Linked DNA regions of Homo sapiens: regions 1 and 3 are each linked to region 2. Evidence: promoter capture Hi-C in human tissues and cell types (Jung and others, 2019). All regions are on one chromosome and are shown on one strand. The core of a region is centred on a gene start or on the middle of the fragment in contact, and the rest is flanking DNA. Distances in the headings are between cores, read along the strand shown.

Region 1 (4,122 bases), core at 506-3,005, 320 kb after region 2:
AGGAATTTGGAGTATCACTGAAAACCCAGAACATGCCTCATTAGGTTCAGCTTCCTGTAGTGCTAGTGTGGGCATTGCAGGGTCTGTCATCCAGTTTATGGTCATGGGCATTAGATAACACAACCTCATATTCAGGTTTAATCTCAACCCATACCCTTTGCTGTAGTGTATCTCGAACAGCTGAAAAGATCATTTATTTCTGGGCCATCTAGAAGCTCATGCTGTCATAAAGACTCAAAACCATTCAGCACCCATCTTCTCTTGAAAGAGAAGAGTAGGCAAAGGAACAGTTTTCATAAATCTGAAAATCCAAAAGAACTTTATAGGGCCCAAAACTTTAAGAGTTCACCTGTTTCCCCTCTGATGATCATGTAGCAAGCAGAGAATTATTTCAGCTTTAAGGGCATAAATCCACTAATTGCCCAGCCTCTATGAATCCCTCTTGAGGGCAAGGACTGAATCCTGCTCCTCTCTGCAGCACTTAGCAAGCAGAAAGATGCTCAGTTAACAGTGGATGAACTGAATTCAGCATCTTAGAGCACTAAAAACGTTAATTAAAGAAGTGTGCCTGTGCAATGTTTCAAATGTTAAAGCTACGTTTTCTTTCATGTTAGTTTATCAAGGTCAATCCATATCCCCTTTTTTTGAACCAATTAATTCATACTACCTTATCCCTTATATAAATTCTCCAAAGAAATCTTTAAAAAGGCAACTTGACTATTGGTACAATGCAATGAATGACAGATAAGTAAAATCGATTCTACAAATAAAAGTTCTAACATATGACAGACCTACAGATGACTAGTTTACATGTACGTTCCTAAGACTTCAAAGACACATACTACACAGGAACTCCTGTATCGATTCTGCTTTCAAAATGGCAGTTAAAACACCAAAAGGTGTCTTGAAACTCAAGTTTTATTGGATAACTGAAGTAGGGCTTTGACTGGCCTGGACCCACCTGGATGATCATCCAAGTGGTCTCACATATAACTAGTGGTCCTCGGAAAACAAAGGCTTCTTCCTGCTTGAAAACTACTTAGTAATGACAAGAGGGTGGCCTTTTGGTGACATTTGCTTGGGGAGTCAAATTTTAAAATCAGGGTGATACAAAGATTTAAGTTTTGGATGAATGGGATCCACTTTCTCCCTGGCAACAAATATTTCTTTTTCTGTTTCATGGGTCAGCTTGAGTACAGAGTGAACTGACATCAGATATGAGTTTATATCAATTTAAAATAATACTCCTGAATACTGGTTACAACATTAATATGTGAGTGCATGGAAGAGAATATAAAGGTACAGATTTCTTTCCCAAAATGACTGCTGCAAAACACTGAGTGCATCACCTTTTAACTGTCTTTATTTTGATCTAGTTTAAACAGATAAAGAAGCCAAAATTTTGCCAATGAGACTACTTGCCAGGTGGAAAACGATTAATTTATAGACTCCTGGTACAAAAGCCAAAACAGTAGGCGCTCAGTAACTACTTCCTGAATGAAGAAAGTTATATACTTATGTACAAAACATTTAGTTTCTCCACCAACTTGAACTTTTCATAAAGGAGAGCAAACATTCTTGCAGTAGAAAAAGGAATGTAGCCACAAACTAATATTGAAAATCAGAAAAATACCCACTCTTTAAAAGGCAGTTAATCTTAATAGCTCCAAATAACCATGGCAAGAAGTCTTGTTACAATCGCTATACTCCTTTCATGTTTATAAAAATTTGATTCCATCTATAAGAAATAAAGAACATCCCTCCCTCTTAGTCTTCAAATTCAAAATAGGACCTTAGCAGTTATTTCAATAATACATAAAATGCATGCCTTTCACTATTAAGTAGATACATTAAATATTCCTTCTTCCTTGCCCCTATAGCACCTGAGTGGATTCCCTGAGCTGTCAGCCTCTGGCTTCTCCTCAAAGGTAAGTTAATGAACAACTAACTGTGTCAGCCTGCTTGCAGCCTGCTGCAGTTTCCACTCTGCTAACTATAAGGACCAACGGCCCACACTGAAGACAATAAAACACAAACAGGGGATGTGTACCAGCCCCCAAAATCTTTCCACTAATAGATGTCCTCTCTACAGAATTCCTTAAAAGTATTTCTGGAAATAATCTAGGTTAGGGTCAAGCAAGTGCAACTAAAGACACCTTTGTCACAGCTTGCAAATGCTTCACACTTTTGTTTAGCACAGGAGAGAGACATGTCTACAAAAACTGTAGTGACAAAACTATGACATTCAGAATCTAAACTTTATTAGTATTTTCTCCTCTGAGAATGATAAAGAACAAAATTATAAATCTCTATCATCCCTCTAAACTGAAGTACTGTTCTCTGAGGTAGGAAAAATGCTCTATTTTTATGCAAAGAGAATAGTTATAAGGATGGACGATACAGTGGTAAGCAGTTTAAAATGGACTACATGACCTCCACCTGGCAGCTTGCAAACCGTACCAATAACTGGATCATTTTAGATCACAATAGCTATTTGGGGGACAAGGGAACTAAAACTACACTTTACTTTTAACACAACCATTCAAGAGAATTAAAGAGTGGACCAGTTAAAGCGACCATCACAACCATCGCCATAATTCCTCACTCCCCCCAAAAGCCAGATACTTCACATGAGCAATCACACATTCCATAATCTTTGTTAATCCTTGAATGCATTCATTTTTTAACCAGTCCCATAAATAATATACTTAACAACACCCTCAAGAAGTAAAAAGAGTAAATGCATTTAAAGAAGCAGGCTCTTCATCTTTAGGGAAACTTGCAACATTAGTAGAAAATCAAAACATCAGTGTGTGACCTGTCTGTTATCGAGATGTCTCTAAGATGGTCAACAGTGGAATTCCGTATGACACTACTTGATAAAGTCCAGTCAGTATTAGGCTAGAGAGCCTATGTTTATGATTAAGTAATAATGACTGAAGCTGGAGCTGCACAGGGCATTTCCTGCGGATTAATGACCAGCCAGAAGAGTTGATGACCCAAAGCAATGCCACAGGCCAGCAACCTCAGCTAGGCATTAAGCCCCAGGAAATGCACTGAACCTCAACTCTTACAGTGATTTTAATATACAAAGAAGGAAAAAGTTTGCTCTCAGCTTTCTACTGAGCAATACTTCGACTGCTCAGACTTCATAAGTGAAAAGCTGACTACTAAAAATGTGCAAACTGAAAACTTTTTGTAGTGTTTTAACTAACAGGGACTTGGAGCTAAGATCTTGTTTGAGAGCCATAATAATCATATAAGCCATATATGGACACTCAAATCTATATTTAACTTAGGAGTTACCTGACAATAATGCAAGAATAATAAAAGCATCAGTATACAGTTTTTTGGAACTGATTTATTTTACTCAGGTAAATAAAAGATAATGACTGAAAGACTGCATTCCTTAGAACAAAACAAAACCAATGAAACGAAACCCTCTTATATTTTGTGGTTCTTTACGTCACAATTCTATATTACACTGGTGTCAAGAAACCAGCAGACAGATGCCAGTAGACAAATGGTTTCATTGTTATCCCAAGGCCATGCACGCCTTAATAAACTTTCTTAGACTTTTAACTCTTAATTAATCAGGTGCTATTCTAAATTAGGGCATTTCAAGGGTTTTTACTGTATCAGAAGAATATGAACATTTATTTTTGCTTTCAAAGAAAAAGCAAACCCTAAATTCTCCTCTCCATTCTTAAAATTCACTAACACAACCTGTCAGAAATAGACTACACACCTGAAGTACAGAAGACACATAGCCTACAGGTCTTGTGTATTTTAGAGAACTTTGGTGTTTATATTACCACTCGCAGCCCCTTTCTCAGTTGGCCTTGAGGCTTGCCCATTAGCTGGTAAACGTTTGAAAGGGTCAGTGTGTCCAGAACTGGAATTTCCACTTTGGAAAAAGCACAGAGGTACCTGACATATGTTCCTGGAGGGCCTGCACTATACCTTCAGACCTGCAAAATTCCTACTTCTGCTTGATGGCAGGCAGGTCAAAGTTGTAAAACCTCCAGTGGGTACTCCTGCCTGCAGAATAGAACACAGTGTCCAAAGACCCCTGGTTTCTGACTCCTAGACTAGAGAGTGTCCAAAACATGAATATAACTT
Region 2 (4,045 bases), core at 86-2,585:
AACAAATAATAATTGTATGTATTTATGAGGTATCATGTTACATTTGTATGTGTCGTGAAATAATTAAATCAAGTTAACATATTCATCACTTTAACATGATTTGTCCTGAATGGAATCCCATTCATGAGGGCTCCACCCTTATGATCTAATCACCTTTCAAAGGCCCAACCTTCTAATATTATCAACTCCAGCTTTAGCATTTTAACACTCAGTTGGGGGTATAATCCTAGCACTTTGGGAGGCCCAGGCGGGAGCTCAGGAATTGGAGACCAGCCTGGACAATATAACGAGATCCCGTTTTTGCTAGGCATAGTGCCGCTCCCCTGTGGTTCCAGCTACTCGGGAATCTGAGGTAGGAGGGTAGGATGATCACTTGAGCCCAGGAGGTGGAGGCTGCAATGAGCCAATGGTGCCACTGCACTCCAGCCTGGGTGACAGAGTTAGATCCTGTTTCCAAAACAAAACAAAACAAAACAAAACAAAACAAAACACCACAACATTCAGATCATAGCATCTGCCTACTTGTAAAATCGCCTTTCAGTGCAGTGTTGGTTCCTACAAACATACAATATAATGACTTTAGCTTGAAATTAAGGCATCTTCTCTGACTGCATTACAAACAGGCAAGTTTTTTCATATCGATTCACTCAACACCTTTTATTTATCCAGATAATATCTAGGATCACGCTTAATATCTAAGTGCTAGAATCTAATTATATAGATATCAAAAGGCATTAAGTTTTTCAGAAGACAGACATACAATTTTAATGTTTAGAGGTGATAGAGACACCTATAGCAGCACCAAAGAAGAAACGATTTTCCATTTAAGATTTTAGGCAGTTTAACTCTAAAATATGAAAATAGGCACATCTCACAGACTATAAAACTATACGCCATTTTAATTTTTACAATGTCAATTCTAACTGCGAATTTTAGCAACGCTTCAGTGTGAAGACAGCAGAGAAAAACACTGAAAATGCGTGATTGAATTCTTATTGAGTCACTCTTCTCGGAAATCAGTCCTCCCCATTTTCTCCTTAAAAAATAGAATCCTGGAGATAGTCTAGTGCTGGCTTTTCGAGGAACACACTACAGGGGACACAAGGAGAGGAACACGGATGCCGCAGTTTTCCAAGTGCAGCTTGCCCCTCCCACGTGATAGGTTTCTGGCATCGCCCCTCCTTGCTGGCGATTCTGGGGAAGATTTTAACGCTCCCTGGAGCCGTCCCCAGTGACGTCACGGGCGCGGCTCCGCTCCTTGGCCAATCACGCGGCCGGATCCCGGGGAAACCCGGGGCGGTGGCGGCGGCCTGGGCGCGTGCGCGAGGTCTCCGCGTGGCTATATAAACATGGCTGGCGTGGCCGCGCGGCGGGGCCGTGCCAATCGCGCGTAGGGGGCTGTGGGCACTCGGGGTTCGTAGTTTTGAAATTTCTGGCGGGGGAGCAGCTGCGCAGTTAGGCTCGAGGTGTGAGCGACGACCTTCCGGGAGCCGCAAGTCCAGGCTCCCCCGCAGCGGGACCCGAGCCTGAGGCGCAGGGCTGAGGCAGCGCACGTGTGAGCGCCGCTGAGGAAGCTGCGAGAGGTCGGGCGGGTGTCGCTCCGGGGGCAGCCCAGGCTCGCGCGGACGAGAGGAAGGTCCGGGACGCGCGTGTCCTGCCGTGCAGCGGGCGCCCGTCACTGACTTCGCTGCTGCGGCCCCCGCGCCTCTCCCCAGCGATGCTGTGGAACCCGAACCGCACCGGAGTCGGCTGCCGCGCGCCAAGCCTCCCCTCACCTCTGCTCCCGGAACCGCAGCGCCAAAGCTGCCGCTGAGCCCCTGGGGGATGCCCGCCGGCCTCACCGAACCCGCCGGCGCCGCTCCCCCGGCTGCTGTGAGCGCCTCGGGGACCGTGACCATGGCCCCGGCCGGGGCGCTGCCGGTGCGGGTGGAGAGCACTCCGGTGGCCCTGGGCGCCGTGACTAAGGCTCCTGTCAGCGTCTGCGTGGAGCCCACGGCGTCCCAGCCCCTGCGGTCCCCCGTGGGGACCCTGGTGACCAAAGTGGCTCCGGTCAGCGCCCCTCCTAAAGTCAGCAGCGGCCCTAGGCTGCCTGCTCCTCAGATAGTCGCCGTGAAAGCCCCCAACACCACGACAATCCAGTTTCCTGCTAATTTGCAGCTTCCTCCAGGTATGTTGATAACCCTTTCCAGCCTTGTCTGTCGGTCCAGCTGGCGGCGACGGGAAAATTCGCAGCTCCAGATTGCTCCTAAAAAAACTGAGCCACGGGAACATTTCATAATCTTGACTTTACAGTTAACATATTCTTTTTGTGTCATTACTACATAGTTTTTCTTTTCATATTTAAGGAAAGAATCTTTTCACCTAAGTGATACAGTAAAAAGCTACATCAGCGTATTCGGGGGGGCTTTCAGGCACTGGCTCTTAGGTGGAGGAGATAATATAGCCGAAGTTAATTTCCATGTGGAGGATGGACCGGTTTATACCGTGGATTTCCATACGCTTAGATTATGTAGAAGTGCGTTGTACTTATTTTATTAATTATGAATGAATGAATGAACGAATGAGGTATGGTTTCGCTCTGTCGCCCAGTCTGGAGTGCAGTGACACGATCATGGCTCACCGACGTCGAACTCCTGGGCCCAATCGATCCTCCCGCCTCGGCCTCCCAAAGTGCTGGGATTACAGGCGTGAGCCACCGCGTACGGCCTAACAGTGAAGTTCTTGTGTATTACAACTGAAAGAGATTTTTAAATTTAACCAAGTCAGAATCGGTTTACTGCTTTCTAGTACCAAGTACGAATAATGCTGTTCCTGCACAATCTTTAAATGTCTTATGATTCTAACTTTCAATTAGCAGAACCCCTGACTGGGAACACGTGCCACAGTTGACAAACAGATCAGTCATGCAATTGTTACAGTTGCAATTGAAGCCATGTGTCAACGCTACTGTTAATGAGTCTTTCACTACTTTCTATCCTAGGGCTTTTTACTCTATTGGGCTGTATTTCATGGTTTGTATAAAGGTTTTGCTTTGTGATAATTTACATATTGTAAATATGCTGAATGATTTTGGGGTGTTCAGCCTTTCTTTACTGAAAGTCTCTTGGAGTTTGCTTTCTGTTAATTTTGTTTAGCAGTAATTGGAACTCTGAACTGCAAAGATGGTAAAAAAGGGGAAGCATTGATTCAAAAGATTCTATATCCCCTAATAAAATGACAGGGACCCTTTTTGTATCTAATGTTGTAGTTAGTCATACACGTTGTGGATAGATTTCACTTTTTATGAAGTTCTGTTTCAGTTTTATATGGTATACAAGGTATGTAAAATTGTTAAGGCACTGTTACGGCAGTGTGCAGCACCGAATACATTATTTGGCAGTTCTAAATTGTTATTCTGAGTTGTTATTCTGCATATATGTTTATAAAGTAGTTCTGAATGTGTTAGAATGAAATTACCCCCTAATTTGTTAAACTGTAAATCCTGTCTAGTCACTGAAGTTTGTTTATAAATAGTCAAAAAAAAAAAGTATTAAGAAAGAACTGTCTGAGAGGCTAAGGCACGAGAATCGCTTGAACCCGGGAGGTGGAGGTTGCAGTAAGCCAAGATATCTTGCCACTGCACTCCAGCCCAGGCAACAGAGTGAGACTCTGTTCCTCCCCATCCCTCCCCAACCCCCCAAAGAAAGAACTGTCAAGAGTGAAAATTTGCTGGTAAGTGAGAGTGAATCACTTACTGGAGGATTGGGGCCTTATCATGCTAAGCACTTTTAACAAATTATTTATATTCTTTTATTTGTTGGTCATAATAGGTAGGTAGCAAATAAGGAAAGAGGTCTCTAAGAGTAAATAATTTGTCCAATGCCAGGCAACCCATAGGTGTCGGGGGAGTTTTAGCTCAGGTCTGTTTATTCTTTCCACAACGCTATGCTTATTTTTTTACTTGTATGTGTACGGTATGCCTCATTGAGTGTCAGTACTGAAAGGTGATTCAGAGAACTTTAGATTCCAGTCTTTTATTTTATATACCAAGGAACCAAAACTGAAA
Region 3 (4,616 bases), core at 2,018-4,517, 310 kb before region 2:
GGCAAATGGGAGGAAGGCAGAGAGCTTTATTCATTCAGTCATTCATTCACTTATTTTTGGCATCTGCTGTTTCTCAGTTTTCTTCAGCTCAAAATAATCTTCATGCCAAAGTGGCATACTTTAAGGTAACATATTCTGATCCCCTACACTCAATATCCCAAAGCACACACATACACATACACAAACACACACACACACACACACACACACTTCACAAGAAAGGAAAACAAGCCTTCAGTGATAAAATGACTTGCTAGTTAGTGACACCTTAGTCAGTGGCAGAATTACAAGAACTAAATAAACCTGATTAATGAATAATAACAACCTCAACTCAGGACAAATGGCTTTTAAGTGTTACCTAGCGTATTAGTCCGTTCTCACGCTGCTGTAAGGACAGACCTGAGACTGGGTCATTTATAAAGGAAAGAGGTTTAATGATTTACAGTTCCCACAGGGCTGGGGAGGCCTCAGGAAACTTACAATCATGGCAGAAGGGGAATCAAATACATCCTTCTTAACATGGCGGCAGCAAGGAGAAGCGTAGAGTGAAGTGGGAGAAAAGCCCCTTATAAATCAGATCTCCAGACAATTCACTCACTATCACAAGAACAGCACGGAGGTAACCGTCCCCATGATTCAATTACCTCCCACTGGGTCCCTCCCACGACATGTGGGGATTATGGGAACTACAATTCCAGATGAGATTTGGATGGGGACACAGCAAACCACATCACCTAGATTGATCTAACTGAAAATATACTCTGCCAGAATTTCCTTATCATTTTAAATGCTTGATGTATCCCACACAACTTCCCACTCAGAGAAATACTAGCAGCCATTGCACAGGAAGAGTCTGGACATGCAGACTTCACTTCTGCAATACAAAAAAAAAGCACTGGATTGCTGGGCCTGGTGATGAAGCTTCTTGGGAGGAAGGTGGTGCTCTTTAAGCAATTTAAAAAGACATTTCTTTCAGTGGCTTTGGTCAAGGCTTCTCTCTTAGCTCTCAGAATGCCTGGCTCATAAAGAAGAGCCCCAGGAATTCTAAAGTCATTGGGAGCCTGTGCAGATCTGAGAACAGCCTTCCCACCCTCATCCCCTGCCTCACCCTGTGCATTTTTCCATCTCCCAAGCTCTCTTGTTTTCTGCACTTTTAAAACTTCTTTATATTTATTCTAGTAGTAGCCTGCCATGCAATAAAAGAATGAGGGAATCTCGTTAAAATTATATCAGAAGGAAAAAGATGGAGTAGAGCTTGAAATTCCTGCAATCTACACACAATAACCTAATCAACTAGAATACACAGGTTAAATGGAGTCCACCCTATGGTGAACCTAGAAGATTGAACTCCCTCCCGGGGAATTGCTACCTTCGGGGCACCTAGTGGTAGCCATATTAAAATGCAGGCATGAAAATACCTCACATTTTAGAGCACTTTTAACTTTCCTACTCACTTGCACAACTATTTAGTTTACTGACTTCGGTACAAAGGCCCAGGAAGGAGGAAAAGTTATTGCTATTATCCCATTTTGAGAGTTAAGGCAAAAGAGGCAGTGAGGTTTCTCTGAGGTCATCTCATTAGTGGTGGGATAAATCCAAGCCAAGAGTCCAGTCTTGCTTCTTCCCACATACCCACATCTTCTCTTACTTAAAATGAACCCAGGCTGAAACATAGTCAGATGACTGACCTAACAACTGTACAATCATCTTTCTCTCCCTCAGCTTCTAGTTTGAATTTGACATGAGCCTGAGTAAGCAGGAGATCGCAGTGTTTACTCAGAACTAAAAGTGACATCTTATAAATCTGCCTTAGCCTGGAACTGAAAAGGACCCAATAATCCCACAGATAGTTTTTTGGATAAACATATAAATTGACCCTGCTGGTCTTAAAGCTTGAACCTTACATTTGTTGTATCTGTTTTTTCCTCAGGAAAGGACCTTCAAGCCTGTCAAAAAAAAGTATCAAAGACCTGAAACTCACCAGATCACGGCATCCAGACAATGAGATGCTGGACCCCTCCTTCATCATCATCCTTCCTTGCCCCTCCCTAGCTCTTGTTTTCATTTCCTCCCTCCTGTATGAAACCCTACTTTTAGTCGGTCAAGGAGAGGATTTGAGACTGATCTCCCATCTCCTTGGCTGCAGCACCAAATTAAAGCCTTCATCCTTGGCAATACTGATCATCTCAGTCATTGGCTTTCTGGGTGGTGAGCAGCAGGACCTAGACTGAACCCCTGGTGTCTCAGTAACAGAACCACAGGAGTGGCAGGAGGATCAGAAGTCCATATGGACAGCAACGCTGACTGTCCGGAAGCAGGATAAACACCCTGCTAAATGTGAACCTATTCCATACATTTACATGTCCTCTATGTACAGAACAATATGTCCTGACTATAACTACATTAAGTCATAGTAGTTATAGTCAGGACATATTTTCTCAGTCAAAAGATATTAAAAGTTTAATATGTGAGGGCAGTGGGGAGATTGGCAAATTTTTTTAGCATTGAAAAAGGGCCCACAGAAGGTAAAAATCACAACTTCAGACTCTTTCTTGGCCGACTTCCACTCAAAATTCACCATTCCTGATTTCCATTCCTTCAGGGGCCTGATCTCTGCTTTAAAATGATAGTAAGCTAATATGATAATATAATATGTATTAATAATTTAATGCTTACCCTTCCTAGGTAATATATGTGCATTTTTAACTGAGCTGTTTTAGACAACACACTTTAATCCAAAGCAAACTTTCTAACCCACGTTTCTCTAGTGATGACCTGTCACCTGAGTCCCAGACCTATATATTCTCAGCTTACTAAACATTTCCATTCAAACCTGCCAGAGGAATTGAAACTCAATATGTCCAAAATTGATCCTCCACTTCTATCCTTCACCTCAGTCAGTGACATCACCAATCATTCACTTAAAGCCAGAGACCTGGGAGTTATTCTAGGTTCTTCACAACCCCACCCCAGCCAAGAGCTGATCCAATCTGTCTAACTCAGCATCTCCCAAATGGTGTTTTATGAGCATCGTGTCAATAGGCAAAATACTTTCCCTGATCAAACAAGTTTGGAAAACATTGGTTAGACAAAGTTAAACCTTTTTTATAGAACTAAGGGTTTCTAATATGTTGCCCTGAATTACAAATATCCAAAAAAGAAAATATACCACCTAATGTTCCAAACTCATTTGCCCAGGGAACTCTTATTTTCTTTGCAGAGTATATTGCAGGATCTATGTATTACAGAACATACTTTGAGAAATGCCATGATCAGATATTTTTGAACCGTGTTTTATTATCACGCATTGTCTCATGCAATTTCTGTGTTGTAGATAAGTAGTGTTGTAACAGTGTACATATAAGAAACTGAAAGTCTCAGGCATTACACGACTTGAAAGCCAGAAATGTGAATGAAAATATTTTGTTACAAATATTTATTGAGAAATCCCAGTCAAAATATCACTGGGATTTGGGGGCACTTCATGAAGTGTGCTTATGCTTAAGAGTAAGAGAAAGTCCAAAAGAATCCTAAACAAACAGCTGGCAGGAGCGATGGCTGGAATGTGCTGTTAAGGGTGGGGTTTTGGGAAGGTGGTTCGAGGCTTATTTTCCACTGGTTTGTATTGTTTGAATTTGTTATAGCAAGCTTATGTTATGTTTATAATTTATTTTCTTAAAACATCAATACAGAAAAAAAAATAATAAACAAATCAAATGCCTGGCTGGTGATAGTACTGTTTTAAAAATCCATCTGAAAGAACGAAAATGAAAGAAGAGCCAGACATTCTTGGAAAGTGTAAGAACTTGTGCTACCAATTATTACAATGTACTTAGAGCTGTAGTCATTTTTTTTTTCCTGAGATGGATTCTCGTTCTGTTGCCCAGGCTGGAGTGCAATGGCGCAATCTCAGCTCACTGCACCCTCCAACTCCCAGGTTCAAGGGATTCTCCTGCCTTAGCCTCCCGAGTAGGTGGGATTAGAGGTGCCTGCCACCACACCCAGCTAATTTTTGTATTTTTTCTAGAGACAGGGTTTCGCTCTGTTGGCCAGGCTGGTCTCAAACTCCTGACCTCAGGTGATCCGCCTGCCTCAGCCTCCCAAAATCCTGGGATTACAGGCGGGAGCCACCATGCCCGGCCAAGCTGTAGTCATTCTTAAAGTGAGCTAGTGGCACAGGTATATAGACCAACAGATGAGTTAATCCAATAGAAACTCCACAAATAGAGGCAAGGAGATATTGGCACCACACTCTAACCAATTGAGCTAACAGGCCATCGTGTGAGGCAAGCAGACATAAAAATTTAGTAGACGATTAAGGTGGCATTTTAAAGCAGTGGTGAAAGGAAAACTCAATTTTACTAAATTTTACTAAAACGATAGGGTAGCTATGTCCCAAATAAATAAGCTTGAATTCCTAACTTATTTATTATACTAAAATAAATTCCACATAAATCAGACTTAAAAATTATTATGAAGCCTTGAAAATAATAAAAGAAAACATAGGTAACTATTTTTATAATTCCAGTTTTGAAGGAAGCCTCTTTAAATGTATACAAAAGCCAGAAATGATCAAATCAAAGACTGTACATTGTACAACACAAAAATTCTCTAAA

What was found. Contacts are between HindIII fragments. The study calls those that stand out against the background at their distance.
Region 1: a contact is called between a fragment that was not itself captured here and the fragment with the promoter of TAF4B in region 2, in 1 of the 25 tissues and cell types used here (dorsolateral prefrontal cortex).
Region 3: a fragment that was not itself captured here is called in contact with the fragment with the promoter of TAF4B in region 2 in 2 of the 25 tissues and cell types used here (lymphoblastoid cells and spleen).

The regions. Positions count from the first base shown.
Region 1 is chr18:26,541,626-26,545,747 of GRCh38, forward strand. The region is part of intron 1 of KCTD1 (potassium channel tetramerization domain containing 1); the gene reads right to left. Among named protein-coding and RNA genes, the nearest start is that of KCTD1, 4.9 kb to the right of the region's middle. The HindIII fragment of the contact is 6,485 bases long and covers 1-4,122 here.
Region 2 is chr18:26,225,110-26,229,154 of GRCh38, forward strand. TAF4B (TATA-box binding protein associated factor 4b) reads left to right here and starts at 1,336. Exons shown (of 15, transcript NM_005640.3): 1 at 1,336-2,167. The coding sequence starts at 1,825. RefSeq lists enhancers at 966-1,035, 1,066-1,165 and a silencer at 1,816-1,975. The HindIII fragment of the contact is 12,633 bases long and covers 1-4,045 here.
Region 3 is chr18:25,914,745-25,919,360 of GRCh38, forward strand. No RefSeq gene overlaps it. Among named protein-coding and RNA genes, the nearest start is that of SS18, 170 kb to the right of the region's middle. The HindIII fragment of the contact is 3,722 bases long and covers 1,407-4,616 here.